Regions from separate parts of the Homo sapiens genome. Here region 2 is linked to region 1. Evidence: promoter capture Hi-C in human tissues and cell types (Jung and others, 2019). All regions are on one chromosome and are shown on one strand. Each heading gives the region's core, a stretch centred on a gene start or on the middle of the fragment in contact. The rest is flanking DNA. Distances are from core to core; before and after follow the strand shown. Region 1 holds the start of TTYH3 (tweety family member 3). Region 2 overlaps SDK1 (sidekick cell adhesion molecule 1).

The links. The method cuts DNA at HindIII sites, captures the fragments that hold promoters and counts their contacts. A contact is called where the count stands out against the background at its distance.
Region 2: a fragment that was not itself captured here is called in contact with the fragment with the promoter of TTYH3 in region 1 in 1 of the 25 tissues and cell types used here (dorsolateral prefrontal cortex).

Annotation. Positions count from the first base shown.
Region 1 is chr7:2,630,182-2,634,677 of GRCh38, reverse strand. TTYH3 (tweety family member 3) reads right to left here and starts at 2,692. Exons shown (of 14, transcript NM_025250.3): 1 at 2,400-2,692. The coding sequence starts at 2,522. RefSeq lists enhancers at 1-338, 1,182-1,291, 1,071-1,803, 2,536-3,267 and a silencer at 2,342-2,751. The HindIII fragment of the contact is 13,143 bases long and covers 1-4,496 here.
Region 2 is chr7:3,907,873-3,912,322 of GRCh38, reverse strand. The region is part of intron 5 of SDK1 (sidekick cell adhesion molecule 1); the gene reads right to left. Among named protein-coding and RNA genes, the nearest start is that of SDK1-AS1, 560 kb to the right of the region's middle. RefSeq lists an enhancer at 219-1,418. The HindIII fragment of the contact is 4,501 bases long and covers 1-3,544 here.

The sequences.
Region 1 (4,496 bases), core at 1,443-3,942:
CACCAGGGTTCCCAACAGCAGACCACGGGGGCCAGAAATAGCAAAGGACAAAGGCCAGTCCCCCGTGCCACACCCCCAACTCCCAACCCCAGGCCCCACCTCCCCTCCATCCCCCCGCCCCCATAACCACGGGGCAGATGCCCACTCCCCAGCAGGGCACAGCCCAGGTTGGGGCAGCACAGAGACAGCTAAGAGGGAGCCCTCAGTCAGGATGGGTGAGGGGTCCACCCCCCACTACAGCCAGCAACTCCTCACCAGGGGAGGCAGGAAGGGGCGCCTGCCACAGCCCAGGCCCACCCACTGCCCATTCTCCCAGGAAGGGGGCTCCTGGCCCTTGCCTCCCAGGGGTGACCCTACACAGGAGGCACGGCCAGCCCAGATTCAGGATGAGGCAATGAAGGCTCAGAGACACCAAGCAGTTGCCGAAAAGCACCAGTATTGGAAGGGCAGGGGCAGGACGCACGCCAGGACCAGCTCACGCCACAGCCCCTCGCCAAGAGCCGGGAGTGGAGGCGGCGGGGGATGGAGGCAGGCCGGTTTCCACATCGTGAATTATTCAGTGGCTAATTCTGCTCTGTGGAGATGAGGCAGGAGAGAGAGTGAGTCAGAGCCCTCCCACAGCAGAGCAGAGCGCAGGGCAGGGGAGGAAAGGGGGCAGAAGCCAGGGCCTCCCAGGGCCATAGCACCCTGCTGGAGGCCAGGCAGGTCAGGCTGAGCAGAGGGGCCTGGCTACTGCCCGGAGGCTCTTGTGGGCTGCAGACATCATCGCCCCTCACTCCCTCTCACTGCCTGTCTCGAATGTGGGAATGCAGGCACCCCGGAGGGCTGGAAGGAAGTCCAACTGTGGCTGGCAGCTCGGGCAGGTGGCAGCCCAAGGGGCAGCAGGAAACAGCCGCCCCCCACGCCCCAGGGCTGCCCCGGAGCTTAAGAACTGACAAATGGGCCAAACCCTCAGGGCAGAGAACTTTCCAAAGTGAAGCACACCCTCCTTGCAGCTTCAACAGAGTCCTCCAGGGACAAGTGGCAAAGCCATCAGCATGGAATAAGTTCCAGAAGTTCCTGAATGTGCATTGCCCCCACACTGAACGGTCCCCCAGGGCTGGGCTTCTAGAACGCAGGCGTGAGATTTTATACCAATCCTTCCGCCTCCCTCCTCCCTGCTGTGTCTGGGCGTGCCTGGGCCGATCCCTCGCCCCCTTCCTCATCTGTTAGGAAACGTCATCGGCTCGGCTGGGGGGCCTGGGTGCAAGTGAGCGCGAGGCTGGGAGCAGTGGGCTCCCAGGTGCCCTGCTCCTCCACTTCCGCCTCCCTCCTCTGGATGCGGGAGGCCACAGACAACGCAGTTCTGAAGAGTCCAGGTGCTAGGCTGCCCGCGGAATACCGGATTCCCAAGCCATTTTGATAAGCAAAGCCATCCCCACCCCACCATGGGGCTCTGCCATGATCCGTCCAGAGAGAAACTCCGGGTGACCAGGGACCCTGGTCACGGGGCTTCTGGAATCCGGATCTCTAGGCAGGAAGGAAATGCCCACAGCTTGGTCCCCTGCCCCGCACTCAAATGACAGTAGCTTGGCGATGGGGGTGGTGCTGGGGCCTGGCATGATGCCAGGCTAAGGGCTCCCCTGGGAGAGGGCTGCAAAGGGCCCCCAGCCGCCCCCCAGGTCTGCCTGGGCTCAGCCGCTTCCAGCCTCCCTGCCTGAGGCCCACGGTGCTTCCTGGCCGCCGGGCCTCCCTCCCCCGGGGGCTACAGGCAGCCTGGTCTCCCACGGCCACACACGGCACCCTGTGTACATCCCACAGCCTGACCGCCAAGCAGGGGGTCATTACCGGCCACAGAGGGCTGGCGGCGGCCCAGGCCATTCACCCACTGGAAGCCTGGCAGTGGGATTCCCCAGTCGGGGGTGAGTGGGCGAGGAGTCTCTGCCTGCCTGCACCCAATGTGCTCAGGCACCCGCTCTGATCTCAGAGCCTGGGGGTCATCTGGGGAGGGGTCTCTGCTGGGACACAGCACCAGGCCGCCAACAGTGATGGTGGAGAGGCCCTCCACTGGCCAAGGGGGCTCACGGAGTGGGGAGAGGCAGCTCCATGAAACCCAGGGGCCTTAGTGACACCAGAAGGGAAGGCCAGAATCGGGAGGGGGGCCGTGGACCCTCACTGGGGGTTGGAGGGTATTTAGACCTTTGAGGAGGAGGCCATGACCCTGGAAGAAAGGGTCCTAGGACTCAGAAGGGACCCTCGAGAAGGAAGGAGGCCGGTACCTGCGAGGAGGAGGTGGCCGTGACCCTGGAGGGGGGGATGAGGGGTCTTTAGGCCCTCGGGGATGGGGGCCGTGACCCTGGGAGAGGAGGGGGCCGTGACCTGGGGTCCCTGACCCCGCGACCCCGAGAGGCCCATGTCACCTGCTGGTAGTCGGTGTCCTCGGGCCGGAACTGGCTGCTAGTGGCCTCCCAGCTCAGGTCGAAGTGGGGCAGCCGGTGCAGGAGGCTCACCCACCAGGGCGCCGCGTAGCTGACCCCGGCCATGGCGGGGCCCGGCCGCCTCCGGATGCGCGCGGCCTGCGCGGGGCTCCCTTGCTGGCCCGGGGCGCGGGCTTCAGGGACCCGTCGACCCCCGCCTGGCCGCCCGCATCATCCGCGCGCTCCTGGGCCCGGCCCGGCCCGGCTCGGCCCGGCTCGGCTGCGCTCGGCTCCGCTCGGCCGCCCGCGCCCGCCGCCTCTTTGTTCGCCGCCGCCGCCGCCGCCCCCTCCGCACCCCCGCCCGTCCGCCCGCCGGCCCCGCCCCCGAGCCTCCATTGGCCCGCCTCCCGCCAGCCCAGCCCCCGCGCGCCCCGCCCTCTGTCCCGCCTCTTACCCACCATTGGTCTATCCCCCGCCGATCCCGCCCCACAGCGTGCCCCGCCCACTCGCTCCTGAACCTCTATTGGTCCTTTTACCTGATGGTTTTGCCCCTCCACTCGCATCCCCGCCCATTACCCAATGGCCCCGCCCCTCCACGTGTCCCCGCCCTTCGGCCCCGCCTCTGTACCGTCATTAGTCCGCCGGCAGAAGCTCCGCCTACTTCCTCGCCTTCTTGGAGGGACGCCTGGCCCCTAAGGCGCTGGAAGACCGACCCTCAGCGCTGTAAGACCCGGGCCAGCCAGTCTTTCCACGTGGCCGTGGGGGCTGGAACCCTGGCTGCATATGCAGCTGCGCTTCATTCCATGAATTCGCTCTTCGTTTGGATCTTTGCATGTTTCTTATTTGACTCGAGGGTCCGGCCTGGTGGGCTGGGCTGGTCTTGGCCTCCCCATTGCACACACAACAGCCCACAGCCCGCAGCGCCCAGCAAGGCACCGAGTGGCCTATCTGTACAATGGACATGATCTGGATTCAGGGCCTGGCTGGGGCACCTAGAGCTGTGTGATCTGGGGCAAGTTACTTAACCACTCTGTGCATCGGTGTCCTTGTCTGTAAAAGGGGATGATAAAGCTACGAGTGTTGGCAGGGCGTGGTGGTGGTTCATGCCTGTAATCCCAGCACTTTGGGAGGCCGAGGCAGGCGGATCACCTGAGGTCAGGAGTTCGAGACCAGCCTGGCCAAAATGGTGAAACCCCGTCTCTACTAAAAATACAAAAATTAGCCAGGCGTGGTGGCGGGCGCCTGTAATCCCAGTTACTCTGGAAGCTGAGGGAGGAGAATTGCTTGGACCTGCGAGATGGAGGTTGCGGTGAGTGGAGATTGCGCCACTGCACTCCAACCTGGGCAACAGAGTGAGACTCCATCTCAAAAATAAAAAAAATTTTTTTTAAAAAGGTACGAGTGTTAAGTGGATCCGCAGGTAGATTCAGTCCCCATCCGGCCTTCCCTCTGGGGAAGGTTGAGTCTTTTGTCAAGACCTAAGATGAAGACGGTGCCCTGTTCTGGTGTCCTGGGGCCTAAAAATTCAGGCACCTGCCAGAGAGGGCCCATCATGGGCTTTGGAGCCACACAGCCAAATTTCCTAACAGGGCCTCCCCATGCCTGTGCCTCCTCCTTTGCTAAAGGGGAGATGGGAGCTGCCAGAGCCAGGAGGATGGACATAGTGCGTGCTTGGGCCCAGGTGCACGCCTCCCTCCGCACTCTAGGGCAGTGGGTGCATCCTGGCTCTGCTTCATCACCTGGGGCCTTATTCCTGGACCTCCTGTGTACTGAGAAACAGGTTTCCACACCCGGGCTCCACCATCTGCTGTGCCCGACTTGGCCAGCTCTGTGGGCAGGCAGGCCGTTCCTGGCAGGAAGAGCTCTTTGCAGGCAGGGACGGTTCCGGGCAGTGTCTTCCCAGGAGGCCTGGACTTTGGCTCATTGACTGCCCTGACTCGCCTGTTTTCCTGTGATAGGGCACCGGGCAAGAGGGACTAGCTGAGCTGCGGTTTCCACCCGCTGGATAACTTGGAGACACCACCCAGCTGGGAAATAACAGCCAGGCAGAAGGGGGGAGGTCGCATTCTCCATCCCTAAAGGCCGAAGAGCCAGAAATTT
Region 2 (4,450 bases), core at 45-2,544, 1.3 Mb before region 1:
CAGAGTTCACAATACACGCATTAGCATCTGAAAGCAAATTTTGGAATAAATAAAGAAAGCTCCTCCTCCTATAGCCTAAGAAACACATTTAGAAATGGATCCACTGGCTCATCCTCTCTATTACGGAGTCCTCTTCCTAAAACACAGCGCTCATCACGTAGCTCCTCGGCTTTAAACCTTCAACGAGGGAACAAAATAAACTTCGACTCTGCTCAAGCTCCTCTGTAGTTTGGTTTGTTTCCCAGACTTCCTTGGCCGATCCTTTGTTCTAAGTGAACAGGGCCCCCTTGCCCTGCACGCCCCCGCACCTACAAGCTCTTGCTCAAGTTGGCCCCTTCCCTAGAATGCCCTCCCCCACCTCATCTCTGCTCTGAGTCATCCTTCCAGGTGCAAGTCAAACGTCTCCACAGCAAGGTGAGTACTTTATCCAGCTCCCTCAGGTCACATATTTGCACCCTGCACTAGATTATAGCATGATTCACTACTGAGGGAAATTTATAATTTCCCCTTAAGCTCCTCCAGGGCAGGGCCTGCTCCTTGTTCAGCTGACTCATTTTCACATCTGTGTGACCTCCCTCCTCCAACACCTAATACAGAACTAGAGACAAAATGGGTACAGTAAAGAGATGGCTGGCCTGGGCTACCACCGGCTGTAAGACCTTGGGCAGGTGATGTGGTTTGAATGTGTCCTCCCAAAATTCATATGTTGAAACCTGCTACCCAAGGTCATAGCATTAAGAGGTGGAGCTCTGGGGAGGAGAATGGATCAGGAGGGCAGAGCCCTTGTGAATGGGATTAGTGCCCTTCCTCAGGTAGCCTGAGGAAGCCCGTCTGCCCTTTCCGCCATGTGAGGACACAGCAAACCAAGAAATGAGCCCTCACCAGACACCGAATGTGCTGGTGCCTTGGTCTTGGACTTCACAGCCTCCAGAACTGTGAGCAGTAAGTTTCTGTTGCTGACAAGCCACTCTGTCTATGGCACTTTGTTACAGCCCCCCAACAAAGACAGTAGGCTGCCTAATTCTGATTGCTGCCCCTTCCTAAAGTGGGGGTACAGGATCTAGAGGACAAAGAAGCATGGGTTTTAAATTCAGCCATTTCACAGGCAGAAGGAACAATCCCACAGCCACAGCAGCCATGTGAGCACATGTGCCTTCAGGTTTATCTGTAATTTTTTTTATGTGTCCTTTCAACTTTTGTCCCAGTTACAAAGACTGCAGAGGCCTCCAGCCGGGCCACCCTAGTCCCCCCAAAATGGAGAGCTGACCCAGAGGCAAGGCCACCCTCTTGGAAAGGCTGTGCATCAGTGGCGCTGGAGGAGAGCGGAATGCCCAGAAGAGCAGGCAGCGGGAGACAGAGCAGCACGCCTGAGCTTGGGGAGAGAGGAGCCACAGGGCCCCAGGAAGAGGCCCACCCTGCTCCACAGCGTGGGCCACATTTATGGGATACAACAGAATGCCGATTATCCGGACTAACTGGGGATTTAACAATCTGAATAATCAGTTTTTCTGGATAATTGATCACGAGGGATGCAAGGAGAGGAATCATCAGCCATTCAGGCAGAAAGGCCCAAGAATTGGCCTTTCAAGTGACCTGAATTCCAGAAATTAACACTGAACACTATGTATCATGCAACTGGGAAAGGAGGACGTCCCATTCTACACCTGTCAATCACCGGAGCCTGGGCAGCGTACTTATGCAAAAAACAAGACTGGGGTCTCAGGAAGACCTTCTTAGAGGCCTGTAAAAGCTTCAGACTAGGATGGTAGCGCCGAAGGTAACCGAATGGCACGATGACTCAGTACTTTTTGGTGACCTCCGAAAGCTCAGGCACCTTCCAAAATGCTAAGGACACAGATGCCCGGCACACACATACACACACAGAAATCTGGCCTCTTCAGGAAATATTCCGCACTATGCAGCTATTTTCCCTACACATGCAAATTCTCCAACACAGAGAGTCTTTGTACACATAATACTGTTTGAAGAATGTGCCTGACAAGAGACAATTTTGAACAGAGTATTGTGCTGTGGTGATGTGGCAGCACAGCAGAATAATCTGTTTTTGTTTTGTCTCTCTTTGAAACGCTCAGCCTCTCTCTCTGCTTGGCTCTGTGCACTACAGAGAGAACAGAGGCACCAAGCGCTGCACATTCCAGGGGAAAATAATGCTCCTGTCTGCTGACGCAGCACCACGCAGGGGGCCATTCGCACACAGGACTTTTTCTTTTTCCCCCTGCAAAGAAACACAATGATTCCACATCAGCCTCTCCAAAAAGTGAACAGTCCTTTCAGATGGCCTTTCCATCCATGAGCGCTTTTATTATCTTTATACATTTTAAATGAACCTTGCCCTTGGCCTCTACTTTTTCTAACATGAAATATTCACTTCCCCGGGGTGTAGATGCATAATAATCCCTCCTGCTCATTATAGGTTTTCAAAGCTGCATTTCCATCCTGTTGTATTTAACTTTTATTCAAAAAAAGGCTGATTTATATATGAAGAGGTGCCTCGCTTTAGGCAAGCACGCTATGCAAAAAGATAAAGCCATCGACCATGAGAATTAAGAGACGGATGGTTCTTTAATCCCTGAGCTTCTTTGTAGTAAATTAAAAAATATTCCTACTTTAAAGCCGTGTATTTGTGTATCCTTAGACATAATACAGCCTCATACTGGAGAGCGCATATAGGCCAGCTCCACGGACACACATGTGATGAGTGCTCAACACTGTAGTGGGTGTGGTGGGGTCACTAACACCGTCACTGTCCCCTTTTCCCGAGCTTACTGTCTTTGGGAGAGGTAGGGATCAGCAGAAGCATAAAAGGTAGACAGTGTTGCTGTGTGGCCATATGAACCTGAGCAGAGGCCACAACTGGAGGACGGAGGAGGTCCCTCAGGATGGGCAGAGGCTACTCCACCCACCCCTGCTCCACAGCTGCTCCACAGGAGCCAACAGCAGTGCCTGCACAGTAGATGGGGTGTCCGCCCCGCAGCCCAGGCAGGATTTAAGTCTGGAGTTATTGGCGGCCATCTGGTCACCACCCGAGAGAGCCTGCTGGAGAGCAGAGCTGAACTAGAGGACAGCAGAACTCCGTAATGGAAAACAGGTGTATGATGGAGTAGAGGATGAGGGTCTCACTGCGTCTGAAGATGGTCTGCCTTGGACCCTTCTCTGACTTATGCCAAGATACTTCCTATTTATTTCTAAAGCCAACTCCAGGAATAAATAACTTTTAGGGCAACTGAGAGAAAAGGGGGCCAAAAGGCACAGCCAGAGGGGCTGTCTTCCTCATCTCCTCCCACCCTGGCTCACTTGAGCAGGGGGCAGCCATCCGGGGCAGGCTCACCTCCATCTCCTGATGGCCCACCCCAACTCCAGTGTCACCCACACTGGTAGAAGAAACATCCTAGGGAAGTAGGAGAGTCCAACCCATACCTTTCTAATGTGGATCACTGTCTCTGTATTCTAAGGTACCAAAAAAAAAAAAAAATGAATTCTTTCCTCCTAAGTCCCCCCAAAAATGCTTCCTTTTCCTGACTCCCGCTCTAGACATCCGGGAGACACAGGGAAAATAAATTTATCATGTATTCTCTTACAAAAGAAGATGATTTCCCCTTTGACATGAAAAATATATTAAAGAGGATTTGGAGGAAAAGACAATTATCAGGATAGGCTTAGGTGTGAGAAGAGGTTGAGATGAGTACTTGCGGAATATTTAAAGGAAGGAAGGAAGAGATGAATGGTGGCTGTACCAGATGGGCTAAGCATCAGAATATCACCCTTTTTAGGGGAAGCTGCCTATGAATCTCTATGCAGTTTCCAAATGACCCAGCAATCCTGGACGCAGCTGAGTGGACCGCTGAGTGGACTGCGGGTGAGCATCTGGCCAGCCGTGTATGAAGGGATGTGTCGACGCTGTCGGGACACGAGGTTCGTGGTGGGGAATGAGACCAAGCTGATCGTCTCCTGGATCTGGCGTCATTCCCAAGAATCCTGCCCTCCCTGCTTCCACTTGCATTTGTGCAATGAATTTTCCATCCCATGACAGAACTTCAGTGAGTGTTCACTGTTTGCAGCCCAACGCGCAAAGTGAGCGGGACACAAGGCGCTCATCCGGGTTATGCGCACGGCCCATTCTGTGCTTTCCTGTACCGCAGCCCTCAGCACGTTACTCCAGGGTTAATTTTCTCTGTGTGTATCACAGAAGCCAGCACATTACGGGCACTCAATAAATGTTTGTTAAATAATGAAAGCTAAGCCGCAGAGAAGAGATGAGAAGGCTCAGGAAACAATGTATCAAAGCAGGAATGAGTATTGGTTCAGTATCACCCCCAAGCCCCAAGCCAACAACAACAACAAAAAACCCTCTTGAAACAATGTTTTTAAAAGTAAACAATACACACACAAGCCCTTGCTCAATCAAAGTATTCTAGTTCCACTGAAACTC